Regions from separate parts of the Homo sapiens genome. Here region 1 is linked to region 2. Evidence: promoter capture Hi-C in human tissues and cell types (Jung and others, 2019). All regions are on one chromosome and are shown on one strand. Each heading gives the region's core, a stretch centred on a gene start or on the middle of the fragment in contact. The rest is flanking DNA. Distances are from core to core; before and after follow the strand shown.

Region 1 (6,868 bases), core at 3,202-5,701, 610 kb after region 2:
CCTATTGTTGATAAACTTGGCTCTAACTGAAACCAATTATTTGATTTGAAAATTTATTGTGATCCTAACCAAGCTTCATATCCAGACCAACCCTTGGTCTTGATTTTATAGGTTTGATAAGGTAAAAATAAAAGTGGCATATTTGACTTTGAAGCCTCTATATGATATAAATTGCTCTTAATGAAAATTGGATAGATGGACAACAGAGAAGTGAAGTTTTAGATTCTGGAGTGTTTGGATGTATGAGGAAGAAGCTTTATGTCTTTTTATCCCCTTTGTGAGACTGTCACTCTTGTCCCAGTCCTAGTCACATTAGGGGTTGCTGGGGGGGGGAAGCTATGAAAGCATGGACCCTACTGAGCTGTGACATAGCCTTTAATCATGCAAGACAGCCACGGTCTGCTCTCTTCAGTCTGTCTGAACTAGGGTCCTTGGGGTTTATTTTCCATCTTTCTGAGCCACTGGGAAACCAGGTCATTATACAGGACTGTCATTTGTGACATTTTTGTTTAGTACATGGCAGTTGCTTTGTTTATTTAATGCAAGTTGACACTTCTTTAAAGTTTCAAAACAGTAAAGTTGTTTTGTGAGACCTTGACTCTGATATATGAAATCTACTCTACATGGACCAATCATTTTTTTCCGTGGACTTTCTTGTCTCTTTAGAAATTAGCTTATAGAGTCCTAAATTGATACTTAAACATACCAATAGTTCTGTTTATTTCTTGCCTTTCTCACAGTTGTTGAAATAATTCCATCTGTCTCTTTTGCTGTAAATTTTGGGTTTGGATGTTTGTACTTGGAATTTTTTAGATGTTGACTATATTATGCAGCACCTTCCATATGAGGACTACCCCAGAATTATTCTCTTGTCTTAACCCGAGAAAAGCTGTTTTGATGCACTATTAGATATAAGAATGTTCGAAAGAAGAGGAGATGAGCACTCTCTTGCTTTTTGTAAGCCACAAGACAATCTTTTTTTTTTCTAAGTTGTGGTAAGGTATATGTAACATAAAATTGACTGTTGTAATAATTTTTAAGTGTATAGTTCTGTGGTGTTAAGTGCATTCACGTTGTTTTGCAGCCTTCACCACCATCCATCCACCACAGAACTCTTCTCCTCTTGCAAAACTGAAATTCTCTACCTACCTGTTAAACACTAACTTGCCATTCTTCCCTCCCCCAGGCCCTGGGGACAACCATCATTCTACTTTCTCTTTGATTTTTTGTTTTTTGTTTTTGGAGACGGAATTTTACTCTTGTTGCCCAAGCTGGGATGCAATGGCACTGTCTTGGCTCACTGCAACTTCCGCCTCCTGGGTTCAAGCAATTCTCCTTCCTCAGCCTCCTGAGTAGCTGGGACTACAGGTGCCCACCACCACGCCTGGCTAGTTTTTGTATTTTTAGTAGACACGGGGTTTCACCATGTTGGCCAGGCTGGTCTCGAACTCGTGATCTCAAGTGATCCACCCACCTTGGCCTCCCAAAATCCTAGAATTACAGGCATGAGCCCACCGTGCCTAGCCTCTGTCTGTTTGCTTTTTGACTACTCTAGATACCTCATATAAGTGGAATAATACAAGATGTGTTCCCTTTTGACAGGCTTATTTCACTTAGCATGGTGTCCTCAAGGTTCATGCATGTTGTCGCATGTCAGAATTTCCTTACGTTTTAAGGCTGAATAATATACCATTGCATGTGTATACTACTGTCTTAGTCCCTTTAGTGTTGCTGTAAAGGAATACCTGAGGCTGGGTAATTTATAAAGAAAAGAGGTTTATTTGGCTCATGGTTCTGCAAGCTGTACAAGAAGCATGGCACCAGCTTCTGGTGAGGGCCTCAAGCTGCCTCCATTCATGGCACAAGGTGAAAGGGAGCTGGTGTGTGCAGAGATCACATGGTAGGAGAGGAGGAGGCAAGAGAGAGAAGAAGGAGGTGCCAGACTACTTTAAAACCATCAGCTTTTGCAGGGAGTTATAGAGCCAGCACTCACTGACTACTGCAAGAATGGCACCAAGACATTCATGAGGGATCTGCCTTCATGACCCAGACACCTCCCACCAGGCCCCACCACCAACATAAGGGGTTAGATTTCAGCATGAGACTCAATGAGGGGGGAGCAAACAAATTACATCCAAACTGTAGCAACCACATTTTGTTTATCCATTCATCTGTCAATGGACACTTAAGTAGCTTCCACTTTTTTGCTATCAAGACAGTTTTTCTTGACTATTCTTAAAATCATGTGAGGGCTTCTTTACAGAGCTGTTCTGACCCATCTCAGAAGCTCTTTTCACTTTATAAGTTGTAAGGGTTTTGATGGGCCTTTTAACTCTAGAGACCAGCTAGTCCCTAACATCAGGTTTGCTAGAGAAGGGAAGATTCTTTCCAGCCTTCCTGGATGACACCTAATACATACTATATTCCTAGTAATTCTGTTATACTTAAGATTTATGGGTTCATCTTTCCTGTTACACTGTGAGCCCTTCCTGGGCTGGGACGATGGCCAGTTTCTCTTGAGTTGTGCCTTGTGCCTCTGTATAGGCACAGGGCCTATTATGAAGTAGATATCAATAAATATTAGTTGGAAAAAATGTGAATTAGTAAATAATAATTTGTATTGGGTTTTTATGTGCCAGATGTTTTGAATACATTTAGCTAATTTAATCTTCAAAACAGTCCTTTCAGATACATATTGTTATCTTCATTTAATAGATGAGGGAACTTGTCAAAGGCCTCAGAGATGTAAAATGTATAACTGGGATTTGAACCTTTGTTCAAATTGCTTGTTCTCGCTTGACTCAAGAGCCATTATGTTAGAGGCAGACTTCATAGTCAGTTGATGATCAGTGGGTTTGGAAACATGAAATTTAGCTCAGGCATCGGCTCCAAATTAAATACTCTTTCATTGGGCATTAGGAACTATACCCTTCTGATATGGCTCATGAATGGATGCTCAGAGGAAAGCTTGGCTCGTTAGTTACTTGGACCTTTTATAGGGACTTTAGCTGAACAACTAATTGCTGAACTCAGTTGGCAAAGGCTCTTCTGTGGGTAAATCCTCTTTCACATGTTATTTTGAAAGTGCAGTTAAATTCTAACATACATGATGTGGCCCTGGAATGGATGCATCAGTTTTCTTTATTCTGTTTGTTTGGCAGGTGTGTGTGTGTGTGTGTGTGTGTGTGTGTGTGTGTGTACAAAAAAAAAAAATGTATGTATAAAAGCAACCAGTATCTAGGTATCAGGAACAAAACAAAGGTTTTTATGGAGCTTACATTCTAATGGGGAGACAGAAAAATGAATTCTCAAAGTACTATGAAGTGAAACATGAAGCTACACTGTGAAGAAAATAGGGTAGTGTGGTGATGGAGAATGACTGACTGGTGGGATGTGGTGGATTGGGAGACATCTTGAATGAGGAAGTATCGGGCTATGCCTCTCTGAGGAACCAAAGTATGCAAGCTGAGAGCCAAGTCATGACATGAAGAACCTCAGCCTACAAAGAGCCAGAAGAATGAACTGGGTAGTGGCAACAAGAAATGCAAGAGCTCTCATGTGGGATTGAGCTTAGTGTGCTTGAGGAGCCAAAAGGGTAGTATGGCTAAAATGGAGTGAATGCAAGTAGGGGTGATGTTGGAGAGGTGGGATGGGGCCCTATCACATAGGACCTTGTAAGCTATAGTAAGAAATTTGGGTTTTTTCCAAGTGTATTTTTTCCCAAATTTGTTTTTTTCCCCCCAAATAGTAGGACATTGGAAGGTTTTAAGCAGAATGGTAACTTGTTCTGCAGGCCGAAGAAGTCCTTGTGTGCAGTTCTTGTCTATGTTTAGTCCTCTGAGGCCCCCTTGACACTATCTTTAACTGGGGTTCCTCCCAAGCTGAGAATCTTGCCAAGGTTCTCACATGTCAGTGGCCACCTTTGAGTGTCCTAGAAGAATCATATTTCTTTTATAACCATTTTGGGGCTAACATTGGTTTCATTGCCCTTTCCACAACAGAGAGGGTTTGTTCAACGAGAGCTTCTTCCAGCATTTTCATACATCACTGTTGCCTGGGTAGGGTTTTGCAGCCTGATTCTCTGTATTAATTTAGGATAAAATTCAGTTATTAATTAGACCTGATCTTTCTTTGTCAATAATTTAGAAGCATATGTCCTCGGCACATAATGTTGGCTGACTGTTTGGTTAATAATATGTTCTTGAAGACATACTTCTGGAAATCTGAAATTGATAAGTGAAGAGGAACTTTCTTACTATTCATAAATAAGGTTGTATTCAGCTATTCTGACTCTAGTAGGGTTAATTGCTAACATTTGACCTACATTATTTTATTTTTTCAATTTCTCAAAAACTCTGAAAAGTATAGGCCAGGGGCCTTGGCTCATGCCTGTAATGCCAGTGCTTTGGGACGCCATGGTGGAAGGATTGCTTGAGGCCAGGAGTTCGAGACCAGCCTTAGCAACATAGTAAGACCCCCATATCTACAAAAAATAAATTTGCCTGGCTTGATGATATGTGCCTGTAGTTCTAGTTACTTGTGAGGGTGAGGAGAGAGGGTCACTTGAGTGCAGGAGTTCAAGGCTGCAGTGAGCTATGATGATGCCACCATACTCCAGGATGGTGACAGAGACTCTGTCTCTTAAAAAACAACAACAAAACAAACCTCTGACAAATACAGAAAATAACAGCATACACCTGATAGTCCCATTTTATAGGCAAGTGACATCTAGTATTTTCATAGTAAAATATCATGTAGTGTCATCTGATACTTTCTTCTTTTTACTAAAAAAAAAAAAAAGTTACTTGCAAGCTACTCAGTTGATTTCACAGCTTACTGAAGGGGCAGCCAGAACTTTGGAAAGCACAAAAGGTGAGAAAACTGAGGCTCTGGTGGTTAAATGACTTGTCCAGTGTCACATAGCAAGGAAGAGGCAGAGCTGAGACTTGAACCAGAGCTTGATTCCAAAGTTCTTGCTCGTACTATGTTATATAGATTCTCTATTAATGAAACTGAAGGGAAAAAAAAGCACAAATAACCTTTAATAATGATTATACAAAATGTAAATTTCCCAAAGCAGAGGCTGTAGGAAGGGGCAGAAATATTCTTCCTCTGATCATTGCCTCAGCATTTTTCAGAGTTGTTGGCCATCTGGAGTTGTTGGTCCCTCTCTGGGGCAGAATACAACTGACGCTACTCATTAGTTATGCTGGGAATGGACAGATTCCCAGAGCACTTACATCTCATTACTCACCTAGCCTTGAGCTAATCTTGGCTTTTTAAAGTAATAGCTGGGTGTGAGACCTAGCTTCTGCGTGAGTGTGTGGCCTCTCAAAAGTGTGCTGTTGCAATGTGACTTGGAGTTCATGCTCAGATATGGGAAGGGCTGTATCTAGAGTCTGGCTCCAGCCCTGGCATTTCTGACCTGGTCATGGTACTGAGTTAATTTTATGGAAAGAAGGAATGATGTCCCTTTTTCTTCTTGGAGGATAAGGCTGTGTCAAAGGGAAAGGAAGGAAATTAATTCCCGTTGTTGTCTGCTATGAGCCATGCACTGTACTAGGCACATTTGACATTGGTTTTTGAATTAATTCTCATAACAGTGCTGTCAGGGGAACAGTATTATCCTCATTTTGCAGAGAAGTAATATTGAGGCTCAGAGAGAGGAAATGATTCATAAGCAGTCACACAGCCAGGTAGTAATGAGATTAGGAGAGAAACTTCATTACACCTTAATTTTAAAAGTCATACCCTTCTCCTTAGAGCTGGGTTGTAACCCCAAGCTGATAAGACAGTTGAGGAGGGGACATTCCTAGGCCTTGGAAATAATAGGTTATATCAGAGGAAGCCCATGAAAATCCAACAGTGTGGAAATAGAGCTGCTTCTTTACTCTTGTGCATTGAGGGATTTGCCTGGAATACCTACCTCCACCACTTTAAATCAATCCAGACTTAGGGGTTGGGGCTAGTTTTTTAGTCTTCATGCAGTCGCTTTTCAATAAAAAACAGGAGGTTAGTCTTCTGCTGGTTTCCTTTTTTAACTAGCTCAGATTTGTTTGTTTTTTTCCTTTATTCTGCCGTTACTTGGACATCGTTTTCTTCTCCTTTGGACTTAAATTAGATTGGCTGTCAAGCTTTTGGGCCTCTTTGTTTCTTGGGAGAGGCAGAAATGGTCAGGTGCCAATGTCTACTTGGGAAGAGGATCAAATTGTGTGGGTAGGATTGGGGTGGAGGCACAGATCTTAAACTATTACTCTATGGCTGCCAGGAAAATGCATATTTTCTTTGCAAAAGAGACTAGTCCGGTGTTAATGCTTTGATTGTATAATTAAAGCCATGGATTTTGGATAATTTCTTTAGATATGTAATGAGGCCTATTTTAGTGTAAACCGTATATATAGTAGAACTTCGTATTTTTACTTTGTATTTTTGTCCCCAGTTTTATCATCTGGGCAAAGATGGCAAAGTAGATTGGGCAAAAAGAAAGGGAGAAGGGAACCACTGTGGGGCCAACCCCTATGGTAGGTACTTTGTAAAATTGTTACTTTGAATTCTTACAGCATTCTTATTAAGTTGGTATTGTCATTTCCTCTTCCATAAGTATTTGGAAATTGAGATGTGACATGGTTAACTAACTTCTCCAAGGTTCATAAGACAAAGCCAGTAATCAAATTCAATTTTTGGCTGAGATAAAAGATTAGTAAGACAGAGCCAGTGGCTGGGCGCAGTGGCTCATGCCTGTAATTCCAGCACTTTGGGAGGCCGAGGTGGACGGATCACTTGAGCCCAGCAGTTTGAGACCAGCCTGGGCGACGTGGCAAAACCCCATCTCTAAAAAAAAAATACAAAAATTAACCAGGCATAGTGG
Region 2 (7,108 bases), core at 3,322-5,821:
GCTTGCAGTGAGCCAAGATCACGCCACTGCACTCCAGCCTGGGCGACAGAGCGAGACTCCGTCTAAAAAAAAAAAAATAAAATAAAATAAAATAAAATAAAAATTAGCCGGGCATAGTGGTGCATGCCTATAATCCCAGCTGCTCGGGAAGCTGAGGCAGGAGAAATGCTGGAACCCGGGAGACGGAGATTGCAGTGAGCCGAGATCGCGCATTTGCACTCCAGCCTGGGCAACAAGAGCAAAACTCCACCTCAAAAAAAAAAAAAAAATTATAGATATCATCCCCTTTGCCACTACCTCCCATTCATAATCCCTTATAGACGTGAAATTATAGAGTACGCCTATCTTCAACTTTACTAAGGGCTGCAAATACTGTCTTCAAAAGCAGCTATACCAGTTTACACTCAACCAACAGTTTTTTTTTCCTCCTCCTAACAGTAACCGGTAGCAGTTTCTTTTTTTTTTTTTTTTTATAAATTTTTTCTTTTTTAATAGAGACAGGGGTCTCACTTTGAGGCCCAGGCTGGTCTTGAACTCCCGGGTTCAAGGACTCAAGTGGCCCTCAAACTCCAAAAGTGCTAAAATTATAGGCATGAGCTACCACGCCTGGCCAGTAGTTTCAAAATTACCATTTTTGCCACATCTTCACCAACATTTGATATCGTCAGACATGAAATTTTTTTTTTGGCCGGGCGCGGTGGCTCACACTTGTAATCCCAGCACTATGGGAGGCCGAGGTGGGCAGATCACGAGGTCAGGAGTTCAAGACCAGCCTGGCCAATATGGTGAAACCCCGTCTCTACAAAAAAATACAAAAATTAGCCAGCCATCGTGGCACCCGCCTGTAGTCCCAGCCCAGGAGGGAGACTGAGGCAGGAGAATCGCTGGAACCCGGGAGGCAGAGGTTTCAGTGAGCCAAGATTACACCACTGCACTCCAGCCTGGGAGACAAGTAAGACTCCCTCTCAGAAAGAAGAACAGAAAAAGAAACAATGCCAGGTGTGGTGGTGCCGACCTATAGTCCTAGCTACTTGGTAAGGCTGAGGCAGGAGGATCACTCAAGTCCAGGAGTTCAAGTCCAGCCTGGGCAATGCAGCAAGACCTTGTTTCAAAAAAAAAGAAGGAAGAAGAAAGAAGGAAGAAGAATGAAGAGAAATAAAACAACCTAGGATCACACAGTAAAAGGTAAAAGAACCTCAGCAAAACAAGAACTTCACTTACAGACTTTCCCTTTTATTACCTCATACAAAATGATGAATAATCAAACCTATATGGCAGCATGTACTAAGAATGATTAGTCCCCATATGAAACCAAATGCTCACAAAAGCACAACATAGTGCTGGGAAATAATTTTTTGTCTTTTAAAAAATGTAAGATGGCCAGGCGCGGTGGCTCACGCCAATAATCCTAGCACTCTGGGGGGCCAAGGCGGGCAGATCACTTAAGGTCAGGAGGTTCGAGGCCAGCCTGACCAACATGGTGAAACCCCGTTTCTACTAAAAATACAAAAATTAGCCAGGCATGGTGGCAGCACCTGTAGTCCCAGCTACCTGGGAGGCTGAGGCAGGAGAATGGCATGAACCCGGTAGGCAGAGCTTGCAGTGAGCTGAGATCGCGCCACTGCACTCCAGCCTGGGCGACAGCCTGAGACTCCATCTCAGAAAAAAAAAAAAAAAATCCACCTCCATGATTTAAAGAAAACCAGCAAACAGTAAAATTTCTTTTCTCAGGCTTACATTAGAGCTTACAGAGCTGCAATCCCTTGGAAGTGGGGAGGTGCCTTAATACAAAAATTTAAAGGCCAACATATTCACTTTTCTTTCTTCTTCCGATTATTTTGTTCATTCCCCATTACCCTGAATGAAATATCTATGGTCTATTCTTTCAAAATGACTACTCTGGGCAGGACGCGGTGGCTCACATCAGTAATCCCAGCACTTTGGGAGTCCGAGGCAGGCAGATCACCTGAGGTCAGGACTTTGAGACCAGCCTGACCAACATGGTGAAACCTTGCCTCTACTAAAAATATAAAAATTATCCAGGCGTGGTGGCTGGTGTCTGTAGTCCCAGCTACTCAGGAAGCTGAGGCACAAGAATCGCTTGAACCCAGGAAGCTGAGGTCGCAGTGAGCGGAGATCATGCCACTGCACTCCAGCCTAGGCAACAGAGCCAGACTCCGTCTCAAAACAAAACAAAACAAAAGACTACCCTGATCCCATCCAAATTTTTTATCTCCCTGATTATGAAATTCTCTTTCGTCTACACTGTCATCCTGTCTGCCTTCAATGATTCAAATGTTCTTCTAAAGAACCAGATTGCCATTTATGAACTCCTTTTTAAGGAGGGAGTCATGGTGGCCAAGAAGGATGTCCACATGCCTAAGCACCCAGAGCTGGCAGACAAGAACGTGCCCAACCTTCATGTCATGAAGGCCATGCAGTCTCTCAAGTCTCAAGGCTACATGAAGGAACAGTTTGCCTGGAGACATTTCTACTGGTACCTTACCAATGAGGGTATCCAGTATCTCCGGGATTACCTTCATCTGCCCCCCGGAGACTGTACCTGCTACCCTACGCCATAGCTGTCCAGAGACCGGCAGGCCTCAGCCTAAAGGTCTGGAGGGTGAGTGACCTGCGAGACTCACAAGAGGGGAAGCTGACAGACATACCTACAGATGGAGTGCTGACAGACATACCTACAGATGGAGTGCTGTGCCACTTAGTGCCGACAAGAAAGCTGAGGCTGGGGCTGGGTCAGCAGCCAAATTCCAGTTGAGACGGATTTGGTCGTGGACGTGGTCAGCCACCTCAGTAAAATTGGAGAGGATTCTTTTGCATTGAATAAACTTACAACCAAAAAAAAAAAAACAACAGTTCTTCTAAGTAGACTTATAAATCCAAAAAACCTTATTTCTATTTCAGGAGTTTTTTTGTTTTGTTTTGTTTTTTGAGACGGAGTCTCGCTCTGTTGCCAGGCTGGAGTGCAGTGGCGTGATCTTGGCTCACTGCAATATCCACCTCCCGGGCTCAAGTGATTCTCTTGCCTCAGCCTCCCAAGTAGCTGGGATTACAGGCATGGGCCACCACACCCAACTAATTTTTGTATTTTTAGTAGAGATGGGGTTTCACCATGTTGGCCAGGATGGTCTCGATCTCTTGACCTCAATGATCCGCCCGCCTCGGCCTCCCAAATTATTTCAGGAGTTCTTAATCTTTTTGTGCACGGACCTCATTGGCAGTTTGGTGAAGCCTATGGTCCCTTTCTCAGATTTCTTTTAAGTGCATAATTAAATACATGTGATTACAAGGGAAACCAATTATATGGAAATATTAGCAAAACAACAAACTAATATGGTCATAATATATGTACAGCCTTATTATCACATTAAATAACAATGTCTAACGGCGGGTCTAGTAACACCAGAAATTCAAAGAAGTGTTAACCATAAATGATATTCTGAGCTATCTGCAACTGTAAACATGATGCAAAAATATCCGTAATTTTTATTGATCACAAAGTCATAGGCGCTGCTAATGCTACTCTGGCTTGTTGTCCACATTCGTAACTGAAGGAAATAATAAGTTTCAGTTAGCAGTCAATAAAAATAATGATGTCATTTTATCCTCCTTCTAGTGAAAGGACCCTTCTAATTCTATCCATCAATGAACTCCAGTTTAAAACCCCTCTCTAGTTCAAAGTCCTGCTCAGAACTGATTTTCGTCATAAATTTAAAAATAAAAACACTGATTCCTCCTTTGACCTAGTTCTCATCTGAACCTATCACTATGTCTCCCTGTTTTTATGCACATTTATACACAGAACCCTGGGTGTACTTCTGTGGTTTGCCTAGCCAGCACTCACTACAATTTTGCCAGTCAATAAAAGGTGAAGTTAAAAGAAAAGGGATGGAAACAACCAACAGCTCCCTCACTTTCAGACCTCCGACAGCAAGTGGAAAGATGCCAAGTACAGTGAGTGTCTGTGTTAGGTGGGCTGCCCCCAGACCCGTGTGTCCAGCTTGTCAAGCTTCCCTGCAGCACGATATCTTTATCAGCGACACTCAGAAGACATTCCATTTCGTTCTCGCCTCCTATACTCAGTTCCCTACCTGCCGGGCCTCTCGTCTCTGGCCCCCACCCGAGGCCGCCCCGCGGTCCTCCTGTCCCTTCCCATCCCATCCCCCACGCGTCTCTCCCTCTCCTCAGCCCCAGGCCGCCCTGGCTCCTGCGCGCCGCCACATCTCTCCCCTGGGTCTAACCCAGTGTCCCCCGACCCCCACCTCGCCCGACACTGACGGGAAGAGCCCAGGACCCCGGGGTCAGTTGGACCTGACGGCCGGGCAGTCAGAGACAGGCTGCGGCCCTAGGCCGGAGCAACCCGGCCGCGAGGCAGGGAGCCGCTCACAGCCCGCGGACTAAATCGGGACGCGTACTCACCAAGGGGGTCATGCGGGGGAGGACACGGAGGACTCTGTCGGACCGCCACTCGGCCTCGGAGCCGTCGCCCTAGCCGGTGACTGCCCCCGCCGCCGCTGCCGCCACCTTCGCCACTCGCCTGTTGGCTTCCCTGCGTCCTGCAGCGGCGCTGCCGCCACGCCAGCGCGCGTGCGCAGCGCCGCGGGGGCCTCTGGGAGCTGTAGTTCCGCCCGGGCGGCTAGGGGCTCCCACTTCCGCCTTAGGCAGCCCTAGGTCAGCTGCCCCCTGAGGCTGTCGTGGGTGTCCGGGTCCGGAATCGTCTTCCGGAAGGCTGTTCACCAGGCCTGGGCCCTGGTTTCCGCCTGCAGTAATGCTGGACGTGAAGAATCCGACTGAGCAAGTATGTGTAAAGCAAAAATGTAGAGCGTTTTATGCTTTCTGTGACAACGCTCAGTTGCCCAGGACACATTATTCGCATGAATGACTCTCTCTCTTCTCTGTTTCTCTCTCACACGTACGCACACACTACTTACAAACCTCCCTTCCCTTTTTTTTTTTTTTTCGAGACGGAGTCTGGCTCTGTCGCCCAGGCTGGAGTGCAGTGGCTCAATCTCGGCTCACTGCAAGCTCCGCCTCCCGGGTTCACGCCATTCTCCCGCCTCAGCCTCCCAAGTAGCTGGAACTACAAGCGCCCGCCACCACGCCCGGCTAATTTTTTGATTTTTAGTAGAGACGAGGTTTCACCGTGTTAGCCAGGATGGTCTCGATCTCCTGACCTCGTGATCCGCCCGCCTCGGCCTCCCAAAGTGCTGGGATTACAGGCGTGAGCCACCGCTGCCGGCCCCTCCCTTCCCTTTTGTTCTAAGTGCCATTAATTGGTTTGGATGGTATCTGGATTTTCAGTGTAAAACCTGCCTTCCCACTTCTCAGTTTCTAAAATCTTGCTTATCATAAACTTCACCATGCAGTTATTTTAGGTAAGTCAATAAATGAACTGTCTAATAATTTTTGTAACACCATAACTCATATATTCAGAGGTCAAGTTAGCTGAGTTGAACAGTCTAGAAACCTTAAAATTGGAAGATACCTGCTTAAAGGTCACTAGTGCAACTGTTGCCCAGGCAGGAATTCCCTCCTGTACATTCAGCCAGATGGTCATCTTCCTGTTCAACAGTTCAAATTTCAGGGAGCTCACTCCCTCAAGTAATGCAGCCTGCTCCACTGTTGGACAGCTCTAAATGTTAGAAAGTTCTGCCTCCTGCTGAGCTGAAATCTGTTTCCCTTTATTTCCTTCCATTGCTGGTAGTTAGGCTGCCTGGAGCAATACAGAATGTCTTCCACTTGACAGATCTTCAAAAAATTGAGAACAATGATTATATCCTCCAATACTGGGAGTCTCCAGGCAAAAAAAGGAAAAAAGTAATAATCATTTCCCCAGCTATTTCAAATGTCAATCAACTCCCAAACTGCTTTCTATCTACTCACCTCTCTTGATGTCACCTTTAGGGGCATGGTGGCATATGCCTATAATCCTAGCACTTTGCGAGGCCAAGGCAGGAGGATTGCTTGAGCCCAGAAGTTCAAGACCAGCCTGAGCAACATAGTGAAACCCCAACTCTACAAAAAATACAAAAATCAGCGAGGCATGGTGGCTTGCACCTGTAGTCCCAGCTACTAGGGAGGCTGAAGTGGGAGGATCACCAAGCCCAAAAAGGTCAAGGCTGCAGTGAGCTGTGATCATGCCACTGAACTCCATCCTGGGCAGCAGAGTGAAACCTGTCTCAAAACAAAACAGCAACAACAACATTGACAGAATTGCTTCATATTTATTGCCTTGTTTTATGACTACATAGGTAGTAATAGAACCACCTATGGTAGGCTGGTCAGATGTTATTGCTATCGTGCTGCCATTCAACTCATTCAGGAATTCAATCAGCTCTGTTACAAGACATTACTCAATGCACCGCTGGCATGAAATAAGCAAGAGGAGGCCGGGCGCAGTGGCTCACGCCTGTAATCCCAGCACTTTGGGAGGCCGAGGTGGGCGGATCATGAGGTCAGGAGATCGAGACCATCCTGGCTAACACGGTAGAAACCTGTCTCTACTAAAAATACAAAAAATTAGCCGGGCATGGTGGCAGGCGCCTGTAGTCCCAGCTACACGGGAGGCTGAGGCAGGAGAATGGCGTGAACCCGGGAGACGGAGCTTGCAGTGAGTGGAGATCGTGCCACTGCACTCCAGCCTGGGCGACAGAGCGAGACTCTGTCTCAAGAAAAAAAAAAAAAGAAAAGAAATAAGCAAGAGGATACAATTTACAATCTAGGGTAGGATGAAACTGCCACAGATTAAGGATCATCATAATAAGCCAAGGTACAAAGCATTCTGAGATTCTCAGAGAGAATGGCCTTTTCAAGTTGAGGGTTCATGACCTTATGGAAGAGGTGACAGTTAGGAGTTACTGGATGGCTGGATTTCAAGACAAGAGATGGCATTCGTGGACTGCTAAGGAAGAACTCAGCCTTAGCAAAACCACATTCACAGTGGGCTCTGGAACACTGCGTCTGGGTAGGCTGGAGCACCCAGGCCAGGGAGGAAGGGAAGGAGAGGCCCCAAAAGTTGCAAAAGAATCTTCAGGGAAGCTGCATTGCATGTGAGAAGTAAAAAAGGAACTAGAATGGTCAGTTAATCTTC

Evidence for each region. The method cuts DNA at HindIII sites, captures the fragments that hold promoters and counts their contacts. A contact is called where the count stands out against the background at its distance.
Region 1: a contact is called between a fragment that was not itself captured here and the fragment with the promoter of GAPVD1 in region 2, in 1 of the 25 tissues and cell types used here (lymphoblastoid cells).

What each region holds. Positions count from the first base shown.
Region 1 is chr9:124,651,207-124,658,074 of GRCh38, reverse strand. All of the region lies in intron 2 of NR6A1 (nuclear receptor subfamily 6 group A member 1), which reads left to right. Among named protein-coding and RNA genes, the nearest start is that of MIR181A2HG, 3.8 kb to the left of the region's middle. The HindIII fragment of the contact is 5,680 bases long and covers 1,612-6,868 here.
Region 2 is chr9:125,259,289-125,266,396 of GRCh38, reverse strand. It overlaps GAPVD1 (GTPase activating protein and VPS9 domains 1), which reads right to left and starts at 4,571. Exons shown (of 28, transcript NM_001282680.3): 1 at 4,438-4,571. It also overlaps the pseudogene RPS10P17. RefSeq lists silencers at 4,425-4,554, 4,493-4,674. The HindIII fragment of the contact is 6,614 bases long and covers 1,304-7,108 here.